Linked DNA regions of Homo sapiens: region 1 is linked to region 2. Evidence: promoter capture Hi-C in 16 types of primary human blood cells and fetal thymus (Javierre and others, 2016). All regions are on one chromosome and are shown on one strand. The core of a region is centred on a gene start or on the middle of the fragment in contact, and the rest is flanking DNA. Distances in the headings are between cores, read along the strand shown.

Region 1 (7,547 bases), core at 168-2,667, 1.3 Mb after region 2:
TCTTTATTCCTAGAACTGTATTTCTTGTTTTTAAATTTGTTTCTGTGGGTAAAGAAAGCGTTTTGGGTTGTCTGTCCAGAGGGAAATAGGACAAGAAGCAAAAAACTGTTCAAACGGTAAATAAACTATTTAGGATTTGATGTGTATTCATGAGTCATGGGGGTAGGAAGAGGAACTTAACTGCACTAGGTCGGTAAACCACAAACCCTCTGAATCAATAGTATTTCGTTTGCTGTTCTAATAATGGCAAACACCAAGGTGTACCAGAGTGGGTGTGAGGGGTTTCTTTCCTTTTTTTTTCCTTATATGATGTGTGAACATAGTGTTAAGTTCATTCAAAGGAGGCAGGAAAATTTTCTGCTTCACTGTCAAGGCATGGGAGTGGGGCTCTGCCTGGGACTCTGGGAGAGAGAAGTGTGGGAGAAATAGGATCTTGTCACATGAAGGACCGGGTGTCATCTGTCCTGCTGGACATAGCTGAGATCACAGATCCTCACAGAGTGGGTAGGGGTGTTCTTATATTTCATTTAATTATCACAAAGACCTATCGGGCTGCCCATACTTACTGTAAGAGAGGAGGAAGCAGTGCTTCAAATCAGTGAACTCCCATGGGATGTAGTTGGGGTCTGAACTTGTGCCTCCAGACACAAAAGATGTTGATCACATTTGTCAAAAAATGACTTTCAAATTGCAGGAAGCTGCTATCATCTTCCATGCCTTCATCTTGCAGATGAGAAAACCTGGTTGAGAGGCCTAGGGATTTTACAACAAACATAATGCACCAAAGAACAAAGGAGAAGAATAAGAAGATGCTTCCGAGTTCTGGATTTATGCTCCTTCTGTTCCACAGTGGTCCCTTTAAAGCTTTCATGGAGACACAGTGGGATAAGAGGTTACCACTATCATTCGTGTTTGCCCCCAGCATATACTAGTGTTCATGCATACTAGCACTGTGTGAGCATGTATGTATGAGCGAGTATCCTTGTATGTGCAAGGGTGTTCTTGCATGAGAGTGTGTGTTGCGTGAATTTGTACATACACATGAGTGTATATGCATTTTTGGTGGTGAAAGGGAGAAAATAGTATTTACTGAGCCCCAAGGCCACGCCTAGTATAAACCAAGAACTTCCTTTAAATTATTGCACACATTTAGGTAGATATTATTATTACCTGCATTTTTCAGATGACAAAAACTTTGAGTTAAATAGTACATATTACCAACTCGCAATATAATACATTGTTTACAGGAGTCATAAAGGGTGTAATCTAAGTTTTCCTAGACCTGAGAATATACTCTAAGAATCCTGCAATGATTCACATGAGAAATGGAGGTTAGCATCACAATGGAGTACAGAGATGTGCTAGTTAATAAATTGCTGGTTACTTCAATGTCTAGCCACCATGGTCTGACAGCACAGACTTTGGAATCAGTAGACCCTGCTTTGCTCTCATGTTCAACTACACACCAGCAGCAAGGTCCCTGAATAAGGCCAAGAAGCAAGGGCTTCTATCCTTTTTAAGACATCTTGCCATTTTCAGAATAACTGTTTTTGGTAGCTGTTCTTGCATATACTCAAGGGTGCAAAGCACATTTCTTGCCTGGGTTAAATAAAATACAATGTGACAATGCCATGCAATGTATTAGGTTACATCATATAAAATTGCCGATATCCAGTTATTTTTTTCCTGCAAAAATGATCATTTTATATGGCTCAACCCAATCCTTTATTAAACTGTAAGAAAGAGAGAAATAGCCATAGAGAACCCGCAAACCATGCAGGAAAGTTAATCTAGGTAACAAGAGGCAAGAGTTATGATCAGCTTTCCAAAGCAGTTCTTAACAATCTGCCACTTTCAAAGGAACTCCCCTGCTCTGTATTTATGGTGAACTCAGCTTGTGCAAGAAACAAGGTCTGTAGGATGAGATTCAGAATTAGGGGATCAATATTTTATGCCAAATCCAAGCTTCTGGTGGATGGGAATTGATGAGGAAGGACGAAGGGGAGACCAGGCAGCTGCAAATGTGGCCTTTGTGGATCTGACCTACTTGTACATTCAGGGTCCATCCTGGCCCCAGCTTCTGTAAATGAATAATTTAAAAAACCCTCCTTGAATCCCTTGTTAGGTAACTCTTAAGGCTACTCTTTATCTTTTAGTATTAATGTCTAGACAGAGGTTCTCAAACTTTGGGGTCTCAGGATCCCCTTATACTTTTAAAATTATTGACAATGTAAAGAGATTTGGTTTGTGTGGGCTTATCTACTGATAGTTAATGTATTAGAAAATATAACTGAGATTTAAAAATGCTTATGCATTAATCGGCCCAGTGCCTTGACTTAAGCCTGTAATCCCAGCACATTGGGAGTCAGAGGCCAGCGGATTACTTGAGGTCAAGAGTTCGAGACCAGCCTGGCCAACATGGTGAAACCCCGTGTCTACCAAAAATACAAAAATTAGCGGAGCGTGGTGGGGCTTGCCTGTAATCCCAGTTACTCGGAAGGCTGACACAAGAGAATCACTTGAACCCAGGCAGAGGTTGCAGTGAGCCAAGATCGCACCACTGCACTCCAGCCTGGGCGACAGAGAGAGACTCCATCTCAAATAAATAAATAAATAAATAAATAAATAAAATAATACTTATGTAACATAAATGAACAGTTTTATGAAACATACTATACTTTTCCAAAACAGAAGCTGGGCGGAAAGAATTTCACCTGCTTGCCTTCTATTTAAAGACTGGCTTAACAAGACACCTGGAATTTCGTGTCTGCCTCTGCTTTTGATCTGCTGGAACATCCCATGTGCCCTCGCCTCTGGAAATCCCGAGTACACTAGTGAATAAAGCAAGTCATTTCTCAGGAGCACAGTATTAGGAAAATAGTTTTGAATTTATGGACCTCTGAAAAGGATCCTTAGGGCCTCGAGGGTCTCTGGACCATATTTTCAGAACCACTGGCCTAGGGTGATTTTTAAAAATTATTAGACTTTACTCTTAGATCAGTTTGAGACCCCAAAAGGCCCTCATTCTATTGTGCAGCCAGGGTTGGGAATCGCCACTGTCTGTTGTCTTATTGTCTAAAACGCATCTGCGATCCTCCCTGACCACCCCCAATGCCCCCACCCGGCTCCCGCTTTCAGAGCGAAGGTCGCCGCGCTCCTTCGTCGCGGGGCCCTCCTGGTGCCTGAGTCAGGTCCCATGCGGAACGTGGGCGTGCGGGGACAGCGGGAGACCAAGGCAAGGGCGACGGCTTCCGGGAAGCAGAATATGCTGCCATCACATCCTGGACCAGGTCAACTTCTGTCTGGACCACCGGCAGGAGAACGACCCCCTCCACGCCTGCCTCCAGTAGCCGCTGAAGTCCAACCGGAAGAGGCGCCTTGAGTTCCAGCAGCAGCTCCGGGAGGTCCCGGCCATGCCAGTCCCTAGGTTCCGGGTGCCCCGAAACAGGCCCAACCGTGTCCCCTGGGCCAGGCTCCGGCTTGGGCACTCACCTCTTGGCTTAAATACCTTCTCCAGGGCCAGCCTTCAGGGTACCCTGGTGGGTCTGCAGCCTGGGACAGCTTCCCACACCTTCCCACAGTCCCCTTTGCCTGTCTAAGCTGGTCCCCACCGCCTGGCATCCCCTTCTGGGGCCAGAGGTGGGCCTGAGTCCCACCCACGTGCCTGCCTGCTCAGCCTTCTGTGCACTTCCTACTCTGTCCAGGCCTTGAGCGTCCACATTCAATGGATCTCACACACACACACACACACACACACACACACACACACACACACATCAATCAATTGCATCGGGTGTCCTATCAAAAGTCCAAACTCCGGCCGAGAGCGGTGGCTCACGCCTGTAATTCTAGCACTTTGAGAAGCCGAGGTGGGTGGATCAGGAGGTCAGGAATTCGAGACCAGCCTGGCCAAGATGGTGAAACTCCGTCTCTACTAAAAAATACAAAAATTAGTCGGGCACGGTGGCGGACGCCTGTAATCCCAGCCGCTCAGGAGGCTGAGGCAGGAGAATTGCTTGAACCTGGGAGGCAGACTTTGCAGTGAGCCGAGATCGTGCCACTGCACTCTAGCCTGGGCAACAGAGAAAGACTCTGTCAAAACAAAACAAAACAAAACAAAACAAAACAAAACAAAACACCAAAAACAAAACGTCCAAACTCCTTAGCAGGGTAGAGTCCCTAAGACCTAATAGCCTTCTTTCTGTCTTGTGGTCCCAGGTCTCCAGGGACAAGCGTGGTGTTAGCCTGACAATATTCAACTGAAGTTCTCAAGCTTTTTCCTCTGTGCAGCACTGGGAGACTTGCAGCCCTCTGCAAAACTGTCCTCTTATTTCTACCTGAGTTCCCCAGGTGGGGCCCAATAAACCCTGCTAATAATTCTCCACCAAAAGATTGTCATTTTAAGGAGTGCAGAGAAAGTGTCTTTTTTACAGGACTATTGTCAGCACTTCCTTGCAAGTGGTAGCTCAGTAAACATTTATCGAATGAATGAATGAATGAATGAATGCCACATGAACACAGCCACAAAGATGCCGAGTTCACCATCAAGCTACTCTGTTGTTCTATGTCTTGTTTTATGGATTTTAAACATGTGCTTCTCCATTCTAACGACTCATTGAGTGGGGAGTGTGTGTGTGTGTGTGTGTGTGTGTGTGTGTATCTCACGGAACAAGCTTGTGAGCCTGTCTATTTCACTCTAAGGAAGTTCACCAAATATATGAATTCTTGTCAGCTGGGCCCAGCCAGCCCTCCGCATGTGCCCTGAGCCATTGAGGCAACTAGAGGGTGTCCATGTCCAGTCGGAAGGTTGAATGCTGGTTGGGTGCTGTGTGCTGGTGGCCTAGGACAGGGTCAGGTTAGGAATAGCAGTCCCTTTAGGATTGTTCCTTCTTCTACACCCCTCAGCTTGCATGCATGTGCAGGTGTGTGTGTGTGTGCGCGTGTGCATGCATATGTATGTGAGAGAGAGTGTATGTGTATGTGCATTTTGAACCATTTGAAAGTGAGCTAAAGATAGCATCCCCTCTGCCTAATATATATTTTGGTGTCTATTTCCAAAGAACAGGATATCCCTTTCCATAACCATAACAGTTACCCAAATCGGCACATTTAACTTGGATACAATACTTTCAATCCACAGACTGTATTTAAATGTTGCCAGTTTCTCCAGTGATATACTTTAGAGCTATGCTCCGTCTCTTCGGTCTGCTTTAATTTTGGACAACTCCTCAGTAGTTTTTGTCTGATTTGACCTTGGCATTTTTGAGAGGTGCAGGTCACTTTATGTTATAGCCGATATATCCATTTGGCACTGGTCATGTGAATATCTAAATAATAAGAAGTCCTGGTCCCACGTATAATGGGATAAGCACATGCCACTCATCTTGCTCAGCGGATGTCGCTATAAAACCTGAACATAAGGCACAGGGCAGCTGTGAGGACTCTGAAAAGTGACTCATAGAAGAGGACTGGAACTTAAAGTGCTGAAACTGCTGGTGATTTTTTTTTTTTGTCTGTTACTTTTATCCCTCGGCACTCGATGCAGATGCAGTTGCTGAAGTACACACAGAACCAAGTAACTAAAATTCCAGCTTTGTTGCCAGAAGACCTAAAAAGGGACTCCAGGGAACTAGAAAATCCTGGGAGCTCATGGAGAGGGAGGAGTTCAGAGAGTGGCCCACACAGTTGACATGGGTTTGACGAAATACACACAGGAGATGCTAAGAGTGGAGCAAGAGAGACTCAGGCCTGGACCAGCCATGGTGGGGCACATAACTGATCAATGTAAAAAACACTGCCAAGGCTTTTGTTTCTTTGAGTTCTTAAATAATTAATTAATAGACTATTTTTAGAGCAGTTTTAGGTTTTTGGAAAATTGAGTAGATGGTATCAAGTTCCCATATGCTCCTGCACCCCCCCACTCCCCTTATTATTACCATCTTGCAATGATGTGGTACATTTGTTATAATTGATGAGCCAATATTGTTATGTTATTATTCATTAAAGTCCATAGTTAAGTCCAGAGTTCACATTAGGGTTCACTCTTGGGTACATCCTATGGGTTTTGACAAATGCATAATGACATGCATCCACCATAGGGTACCATACAGAATACTTTTAACTGCCCTAAAAATCTCCTGTGCTAAGCTTGTGTGGTGGTGTGTGCCTGTGGTCTCAGCTATTCTGGAGGCTGCAATGGGAGATCCCTTGAGTCCCATAGTTCAAGGCTGCAGTGAGCTATGATCATGCTTCAGCTTGGGTGACAGAATAAGACCCCGTCTTAAAAAAATAAAAATTAAAAAATTGTCTCTCCTGTACCTATTCATCCCTCCCTCTACTCATCCCCAACAACCCCACCCCAGCTGAACCTCTGACAAACACTACTCTTTTTACTTCTCCATAGATTTGGCTTTTCCAGAATGTCATATCGTTGAAATCATACAGTATGCAGCCTTTTCAGATTGACTTCTTTCTTTATCAATATGCGTTTAAGGTTCCTCTATGTCTTTTTCTGTGGCTGGTTAGCTTTTTCTTTTTATTACTGAATAATATTCCATCGTCTGGATGTACTACAGTCTGTTTATCCACTCGCTGTTGAAGGACATCTTGGTTGTATCCAAATTTTGGCAATTATGAATAAAGTTGGCATAAACATTCTCATGTAGTTTTTTTGTAGAGACACAAGTTTTCAACTTATCTGGGCAAATATCAAAGAGCCTGCCTGCTGCTTCACAGGGTAACAATATGATTACTTTTGTAAGAAACTGCCAATCTCCCTTCCAAGTCAGCTGAACTGTTTTGCACAGGCTTTGGACTTGGAGTTATGCAAGGGTAAGCTGAAGTCTCTAAGAGGGCATGATAGGGCTGGTTTTGTGAGTTTTGGAAAACTACAAACATGATTCAGCTGCAACAGTGGGAAGGAACTGCCACTGCTGGGTGGAAGCGGCCTTGCTGGAGAGATGCTGGGAGGAGGAGGAAGTCCTCAGGAGGAACGGTCGGGCCCCTCTCCCTCCAGATTTGCGGCCTCACTCTAGCGTCCCCTTGCCAGGAGCATCTGGCCAAGCCCAACTGCAGTTTGCAGAGTCCCAGTGCTGGCATCACAAGGCAGGATATAGAAAGGTGGGTTTGGAGCCAAGAGAAAATCATTTAATAATGGCATTACTCCCAGCCCCCGCTGGGATAAGTCCCTATCTTATTAAAGCGATAACACAAAGCAGTAGTGAAATTAACAGCACTAGACATGCCACTTTCTCTCTGGACATCGGCATTTCTGTAGGGCAGTAATTTCTACGATCTAAGATTGCCTCCCTGCTGGACTCAGAAAAGAGGTAACAAAAGTGGGTAAGTTTCTATTTAGTCCTGCCAGTCCAGCCTTACTTGAATTGAGGCTGAGCCTGGAGAAAGCTAGATTCCTGGAAGCAGCAGTCCTGCAAACCCTGAGCAGCTGAGCACAAACCACAGCCTGTCTAACGTTCTATTTACATTATTGCCTGCCTTTTGTAATGGAGGGGGGCAGAGAATCACGACTCTGCTTTAAAGTTTCAGCA
Region 2 (7,090 bases), core at 483-2,982:
CCCCAAGTTTGTCAGCCGCTGAACTTACAAGGTGAGAGTGACCTCCATGGGCATTGCAGGCCTCTCTCAGGACACTCGCAACCTATTCCAGGCATCAGGATTCTAGTTCTCACAGCACCTTATGGCCTGCTCATCCCAAAACCCACAAAGGCATTTCCGCCCTCACTGACACCCCCTTCCTACCCCTACGTGCACCATCACTCTCCAGCTAAGAAACCACATTAGTTACGCTTCAGCTGCAGTTCCAGTGAACTCAACGCCATCAGAGAAAGGATACAGACTCCTTGGGTGATGTTTTTGGCACATCTGGCTGCTTTCCTGGAATTGTCACATTGAGTTGCTTTTTCTTTGCAAACAGGGTCTAGAAACAAACTCTTATTCTTTATCACCAGGCATGCTGTCTAAGCCTGTCCCCCATCCTGTGTGCCCCACAAAAGCCATTCTCATCCCCTGACCTCCATGCCCCTCAAGCTGAGTTACTTCTCATATGTGGTTTGGTCTGTATGCACTTCCCAGGAAGTATTCTGAACCTGCACCACTCAAAGTATGGTTCTGAGACCGGGAACACAACCATCCTCTGGAAGCTGGTGAGAAATGTAGTTTCCCTGGCCCTGCTCACAGCTACTGGGTCAGAATCTTTGGGTGGGGAAACTAGGAACTTGCTTTTTAACGTGACATCAGGGGATGCTGGTTGCTTCTGAAGTTTACAAGGAGCTACGGATAAACATCAAAGGCATATTTCACAGGGACAAAGCTTAAGTCTGGTCTGTGAAGAGTGCATTATTCAGTCTTTTGAGAGCCCCATTTGCGGTTGGAGTTGGAGGCTATGTGGGTCTTGGTCGAGAACTCAGAATCTCCACCCACAAACTGTGCCGCAGAGTGCTGTGCCGGCTGTGGCCACAGGAGGGAACCCGTGACAACCTAATGGGTGCACTTCAGCCATCCCTGAGGGCATCTTCGTCTTTCTGGTTCTCCACTGCTCCAATTGCAAGCGGCCACCCGTCCTGGAAACACCTTTGAGGAATAGGGGCAGCCATAACTAGCCAGGCCCCTAGTACCAGCACTTGGCAGCGCGTCCCTGGGCTGGGAAGCTGCATTTAGGGAGGTGCAGAGAACAGGGTTGGGGGCTCCTGCTCTTGATTTCCTCAACCTCTGCCCACGACCCCCAGGCTGGTGCCCCCCTCCCGAGACCCTCGGGGGAGCAGACACCTGCAGGACATCCCGCCAATCCTCCCGGGCTCCCCGCCTCTCTCTCAAGAGGCCCAGTGCTTTCTCGGGGCGCTGTACCTGCTCACCCATGATACTAGCATCCACTGTCATCCCTTTCCATCCTTTTGTCTCTGCCTTTCCACCTAACCTCCCCCTCCCAGCCCACCCCCACTGCTGAGTCCAGGGCTCACCTTCCACTCATACCTCTCACACTTGTGTTCCTGTGCCGGGCTCTGACTCTGGGGCGCCCAGTAGAGGTCTCCTTTAGCCTGCGGAGGTGCTGGGGCAGCTGGGGCTGGGCCTCATGTTCAGGGCACTATCTCTCCCATTGCTAGTCTTTTCCAACCCACCTGCCTGGGTGCTGTTCCTCTCCCCTAAACAGGAGATGATTTAAACGCCTTTGGAAGAAGGGAGGCCATGTGTGGGAGAGACAGGGTGTAACTGCAGAGGTGAGGCCTGGAGGGAGGAGTTTCTGCCCCAGCAGGTGAATTTAAAGGCCAGACCTGAGCCCTGGAAGGCTCCAGTGGACGCCAGGGATCTGAAGGGCAAAGGCAAGGGCTGCTGGAGCCTGCATCATGTCGAGTCCGCAGAGGAGGAAGGCTATGCCCTGGGCACTGTCACTGCTTCTCATGGGCTTCCAGCTCCTGGTGACTTATGCCTGGTGTTCTGAAGAGGAAATGGGTGGTAATAATAAAATAGTCCAGGATCCTATGTTCCTCGCCACAGTGGAGTTTGCCTTGAACACTTTCAACGTGCAGAGCAAGGAGGAGCATGCCTACAGGCTGTTGCGCGTCCTGAGTTCATGGAGGGAGGATAGCATGGACAGAAAGGTTGGTGACCACATCCTCTTCTGGCCTGTCCTTCTCCATCTGCCCCTAAGTGAGGGACCAAGATGTCTAGTCTAGGAGACTTGGTTCACCATCAGCAGTCCATAGTCAGGTAGTCCACAACCAATTACGGTAGTTTTAGTTTTGGAAAACATTGAACTTAAAATTTTTTTTAAATTAGGTAAATGTCTATTCACATGCAAAATATATTTTTCAATCTTCATGATTTTTAAGACATTGTATAACTGAAGAGTGACTTCAAAATAAGGACTTCTAAGGAGATGAAGCTGACAAGAAGAGAAAATAACCAAAGAGACTGATAAACATTTCCAGGTCATAAAATGAAAATGGAAAAGCAAGGACACACAGAGGGAGAGAGAGAGAGAGACAGAGAGAGACAGACAGACAGAGAGAGAGAGACAGAGAGAGAGAGAGACAGGCAGACAGAGAGAGAACAGTGAGAATTCGAGGGCAATAAAGAACACCATCAGCCCTGAGAGGCCACCGTGAAAGGTTAGTTCTCTGATCTCCACCTTCTCTGGGCTCCTTGCTCTGTCTGCACTTAATGAACTGAAGGCCAATTTACACTCTTCCTCAATGGACCTTTATCCTAAAATGCTTGCCTTTTTGATGAAATCATTAAATGTGGTCAGGAATGCACAGTTCATCTGGGCTTCAGGCATGAACAATTAAAATGCCCTCCTAGTGGAGAACTTCTGGTTTAGAGAGAGAAGGAGCATTGCTCTTCCTTTCTCAGCACCAAGAGCCTGAAAGAAAGGCAGAGGGACTCTAGTACCGCACAGAGCTTAAGCTCTGGAAAGACTCTGTGCAAGGCTCTGGCTGGTTCTCTGCCTCCTGGGGTGGATTCCTCACTGCCATCCTCAGGATTCCAATGCTGGTACAGAGGAATTTTCCTCCTTGCTCATTTGCTGCCTCCTCTCAGGAGAATTAAAAGCCTGATGCAACCCTCAGAGGGGCATCTGGTCCAGTAATGGTGGCTGCTAATATTCATGCTGGAACCTTGGAAGTCTCAGAGATTGAGATTGGCCAGGCCTCATGCTTCTGCTTTCCCAGTGCTTTGCTTGATTCTCCAAGACCTCAGTGTAAGCCTCCATTCTTAATACCGTTAGAATAAAATCTAAGCTCCTTACTATGGTCTATAAGTCCTAAATGACAGTAAGTCCTAAAAGCTTTCCACATGGCTTCCTGGATATGGCAATCCCAGCATCAGTTTGGGGGCTGGGAAGAATAGATGGGTGAGAGGGAGGCTATGGAGTGGAATTAAATAGAATGGAGTGGGAAGGAGGGCAAGGAGAACTTCAGCATGCACTTTGCAATAGGGCAGATGGTATTTCTTGAACCCATTTTCCCAGGGTGTGTGCCTGTGTGTAGTGGGAGCGCTGTGTGTCATTCTTCTTGCTGGAGGTCACTTGGAAGGTTTGACAACACACTGTAGATGAGGCTCCCTCTGTCCCAGGGCTGAAGTTACCCTGAAAACTCTTGGAGATCCAACACCCTCCCGGACATGTGGCTCTGTCCTCTGGGAATGCAGCTGCAAGATCAGATGCCTACTGAGAGTGAAGCTGGAGTCTCACCGTGGGAAATGGGGGTGGGTGGAGGTGGATAATGTGTTAGTGGGGTCTGACTCAGCCTGCATCCTCCCCAGACCCACCATGCCCACCTGCTTTTTGCTCTTAACTCCTCAGTCTAGAGAAGATCCCCTGGGTTTCACCTCCAGTGAGCTGATGCCAGGCCCATGGGCAAGCTCTCAAATGCAGTAAAGTGTTGGGGCCTCTCCTACTCAAATGGCATCTTCACTAGTAGCTACTTAGGGGCAGGAAGACGGTGCATCCACTTTAATCTTCTTTTGTCCAACAGTGGCGAGGTAAGATGGTGTTCTCCATGAATCTGCAACTGCGCCAAACCGTATGTAGGAAATTTGAAGATGACATTGACAACTGCCCTTTTCAAGAAAGCCTGGAGCTGAACAACGTAAGACAGGGCATCAGCTTTCCTCAGGTCCACAGCTGTGGATGCTGCATGGGGTGTGGTGTGGGCACAGGAGCAGCTGACAAAGCCATTCCGAGGGACAAAGGGAAGTGAGCCCACAGCAGGCTGTACCAGGCTGCCCTGCTTGTGCCTTAGTGGGAAGCCCAGTGAGGCATTAAGCCCAGGGGTTCACTTTCAGGCCCCTGGCCAATCTGAGTTTCCTGATTCTGCCCTCTGACACCATTGCAGCTGCCTGCACCTGGGCCACATGGCCTTCAGAACCTTCTCTCTGGTCTTCCTCCCCACTTCTTCCCTGCCTTCTAGAGAAAGAGCCTGGAGACAATGGTGACAATGTCTGTGGGTACTTTTCTCAGGGTTTCCCTACCCTGCCCTAGACCCAAAAGTGGTGGAGGCTGAGAAGAAGCCCCACTGCCCTCGCTCCTAGGCCCTGCTGAGCTGCAGCACCTGCTCTAGGGGACGAGCTCCAAGCAAAGCCTGGCTCTGGGAAAACTTCCCATTCTTAGTCAACCCCCTTATTGTAAGATTAACAAATAGGTAACTAATTGCCTAAGTCTGGGAACTGCTTCCACTGGGACAAAACATTCTCCTGCTGCTCTTGGATGCAGGGATCACACCAGGACAGCCTGGGGTTCCCCTGAGGGGCACGGGCTGGAGGAGGAGGCATGGCACAAGTGACCCTGGCTAAGGAGGGAGGGAGCCTCAAATCACGTTGTAGTTCAGGATTGGCCTCAGGCTCAGGCTAGACCTGAAGGCCAGAGCCACGTGGCACAATTGCTGGCCCCAGGAATGGGCAAGGTGGAGATGGAACCTGTGTTGAGGGCAGATGCCACAAGATTCCCGAACCTCCCCAAACCCCGCCCTACTGTCTCTTCCTGTTTGTTCCCTCGGACCTTCAGCTGCTTCTTCACTGTTGAAACCATGCCCTGGAAGACATATTTTGAACTCCTGAACAAGACCTGCTCAGAGGGGCTCTCCTGAGTGGAAGCCACTCACATGCCTGGCCACATGCTGCCCCCTCCCCCGTGGACACCAGCTGTTCCCAGGAGTTGACATATCAGTGGCTGAGCAGCTCCGTGCATATTTGTTCTCTTATTTTGCAAGTGTCTGAGGTTTTATGACTTGGCATTTTAGAAAATCCTCACTGTCCAGGTTCCTCAAGTAGAATAGGTCATTAAACATCAGCATTTGCAGAAGCTTCCTGTGCCATGTTCTGGAGGGAGGGGGCTGAGCAGTTGATGGAGTTCCTCTCAGAAGGGCAGCCTATTTGCATCTGTGTCAGTGGGGTCCTCCCTCCCTTAAGACCTCATAAGCCAGCTTCCAGGTGGCACAACCAAGATAAGTCTGAGCTGCTGTCTCCATGCTCGTGGCTGATGATGACCCATGTGGCCAGAGGTAAAATGTCTGTGATCTTGCAGGACACCCAATGTGCACAACTGAGCAAGACAGGGCCTCTGGGTCCCACTCAGCACATGTGGCCTCTGTTCTCAAGGGGTGGCTCACACACCTTTCCTGGTTCGTGGAAGGTTGGTGGGAAGAGGAAGGACTTCTAGCCTCACCCTTATAAAGCTGTCCTGGCATCTGGAGCAGCAGCATCTTCTGAAAGAATCTTAGAAATGTCCAACTTCAGGGCCTCTGACCTTTGGAAAATGCATCTGCGCTCTTACAAATCCCCAGGGATGCAGAAATCCCCTGAAAATGCAGGATTTGCAGGAATGCACACCCCCAGGGGATGCAGTGTGAGAGGCACGGGCAGACTAGATGCTACCAAGACATTGCCCAAATCACCTAAACCAGGGTTTGGCAAAAAAATTTTCTGAAGAAGCCAGAGAGTAACTATTCTGGCCTTTGTGGGCAGATGGTCTCTCTCAGCTACTCAGAATTGCTGTCGTATCTTGAAAGGAGCAATAGCCAATGTGCAAACATGTAAGAGTGGTTGTGTTCCAATAAGTGTTTATTTACACAAACAGGCAGTGAGCTGCTTGGGCCTCAGGCCATAGTTACCAGTCTCTGATGCTAAGAGCTCCTCTGGACCCTGGTGCCCCTGAGACACACCATGCTACCAGCTCCCACGCCAGGCACCTGTATCTCCCCCAGCTTCACTCAGGGGTTGATCTGTGCAAATGAGCTCCATCAGCAGAGCAGGTGCACCCTGCAGGTGTGGGAAAGGTCACATCTGAGAGTCACATTCTGTCACTGGAAGTGAGCAGGTATATGTCCCAGTCTCCCCAGCCTCAGGGCACCCAATTCAGGGTTGAATTTCTGCATTTGCCTCCCAGCAGGATATACCCCTATGGTCCACAGTCTGGCCTCGAGAAAGAAACCATCACATCCTCCAGCTAAAAATTAAATAAAGTACTCTTTCTGGACAAGACTTAAGTTTCTTCTCCATGAAGATGCCTTCAGCATTTATCTGTAGTTACTTGTGAACTTCAAAGGGACTAGAATACCCTGAAGGCAAGTTCTAAATACCCTAAACCTAAGTTCTTATTCTCCCTATCCCCCAGGAATCTGAACCACTAGGTCTGGGCAGGGCCAGGGAATTTGCATGTCTCACCACCTCTCCTGGGACGGACCTGCTCCTGGTACCCAGACCACACTTGGAATGGTGCAGGTTCAGAAGCCATCATTGCGGGGTGCATGCAGACCAAACCACAAGTGAGAAGTAACTCACCTCAAAGGGCATTGGGATGAGGCTGAGAATGGCTTCTTCATTGCACGCTGAATTGGGGAAGGGGTCAGAACACTATGCCTGATTGTAAAGAAAAAGGAGAGTTTCTAGACCCCAGGCAACAGGACGGTGCCTCTGGAGAAGAGAGAGGCTGCACTGGCCCTGACAGCCTGGCCCTCTGCACTGCAGCTCCTCAGAGCTGGAGCTTATATTTAGTCAGTTCCCATAATTAATTGTTTAAATTTTTCTACTTTTTTGTATTATGAAAAGTGGTATGATGAATGCTTCTTTTATATTTATCGCTGTGTATATATGGTTATTGCTTTCTTATAGGCAATGTGCTCAGAGATTAAACTATTGCCCAATATTTTCATTA

Evidence for each region. The method cuts DNA at HindIII sites, captures the fragments that hold promoters and counts their contacts. A CHiCAGO score of 5 or more calls a contact.
Region 1: a contact is called between a fragment that was not itself captured here and the fragment with the promoter of CST9 in region 2, in 2 of 17 cell types (monocytes and naive B cells). The highest score is 7.3, in monocytes.

What each region holds. Positions count from the first base shown.
Region 1 is chr20:22,339,570-22,347,116 of GRCh38, reverse strand. It overlaps the pseudogene BBLNP1. Among named protein-coding and RNA genes, the nearest start is that of LINC01427, 61 kb to the right of the region's middle. The HindIII fragment of the contact is 1,101 bases long and covers 867-1,967 here.
Region 2 is chr20:23,600,559-23,607,648 of GRCh38, reverse strand. It overlaps CST9 (cystatin 9), which reads left to right and starts at 1,732. Exons shown (of 2, transcript NM_001008693.3): 1 at 1,732-2,039; 2 at 3,915-5,239. The coding sequence starts at 1,785. The coding sequence ends at 4,139. RefSeq lists an enhancer at 4,782-5,283. The HindIII fragment of the contact is 2,472 bases long and covers 757-3,228 here.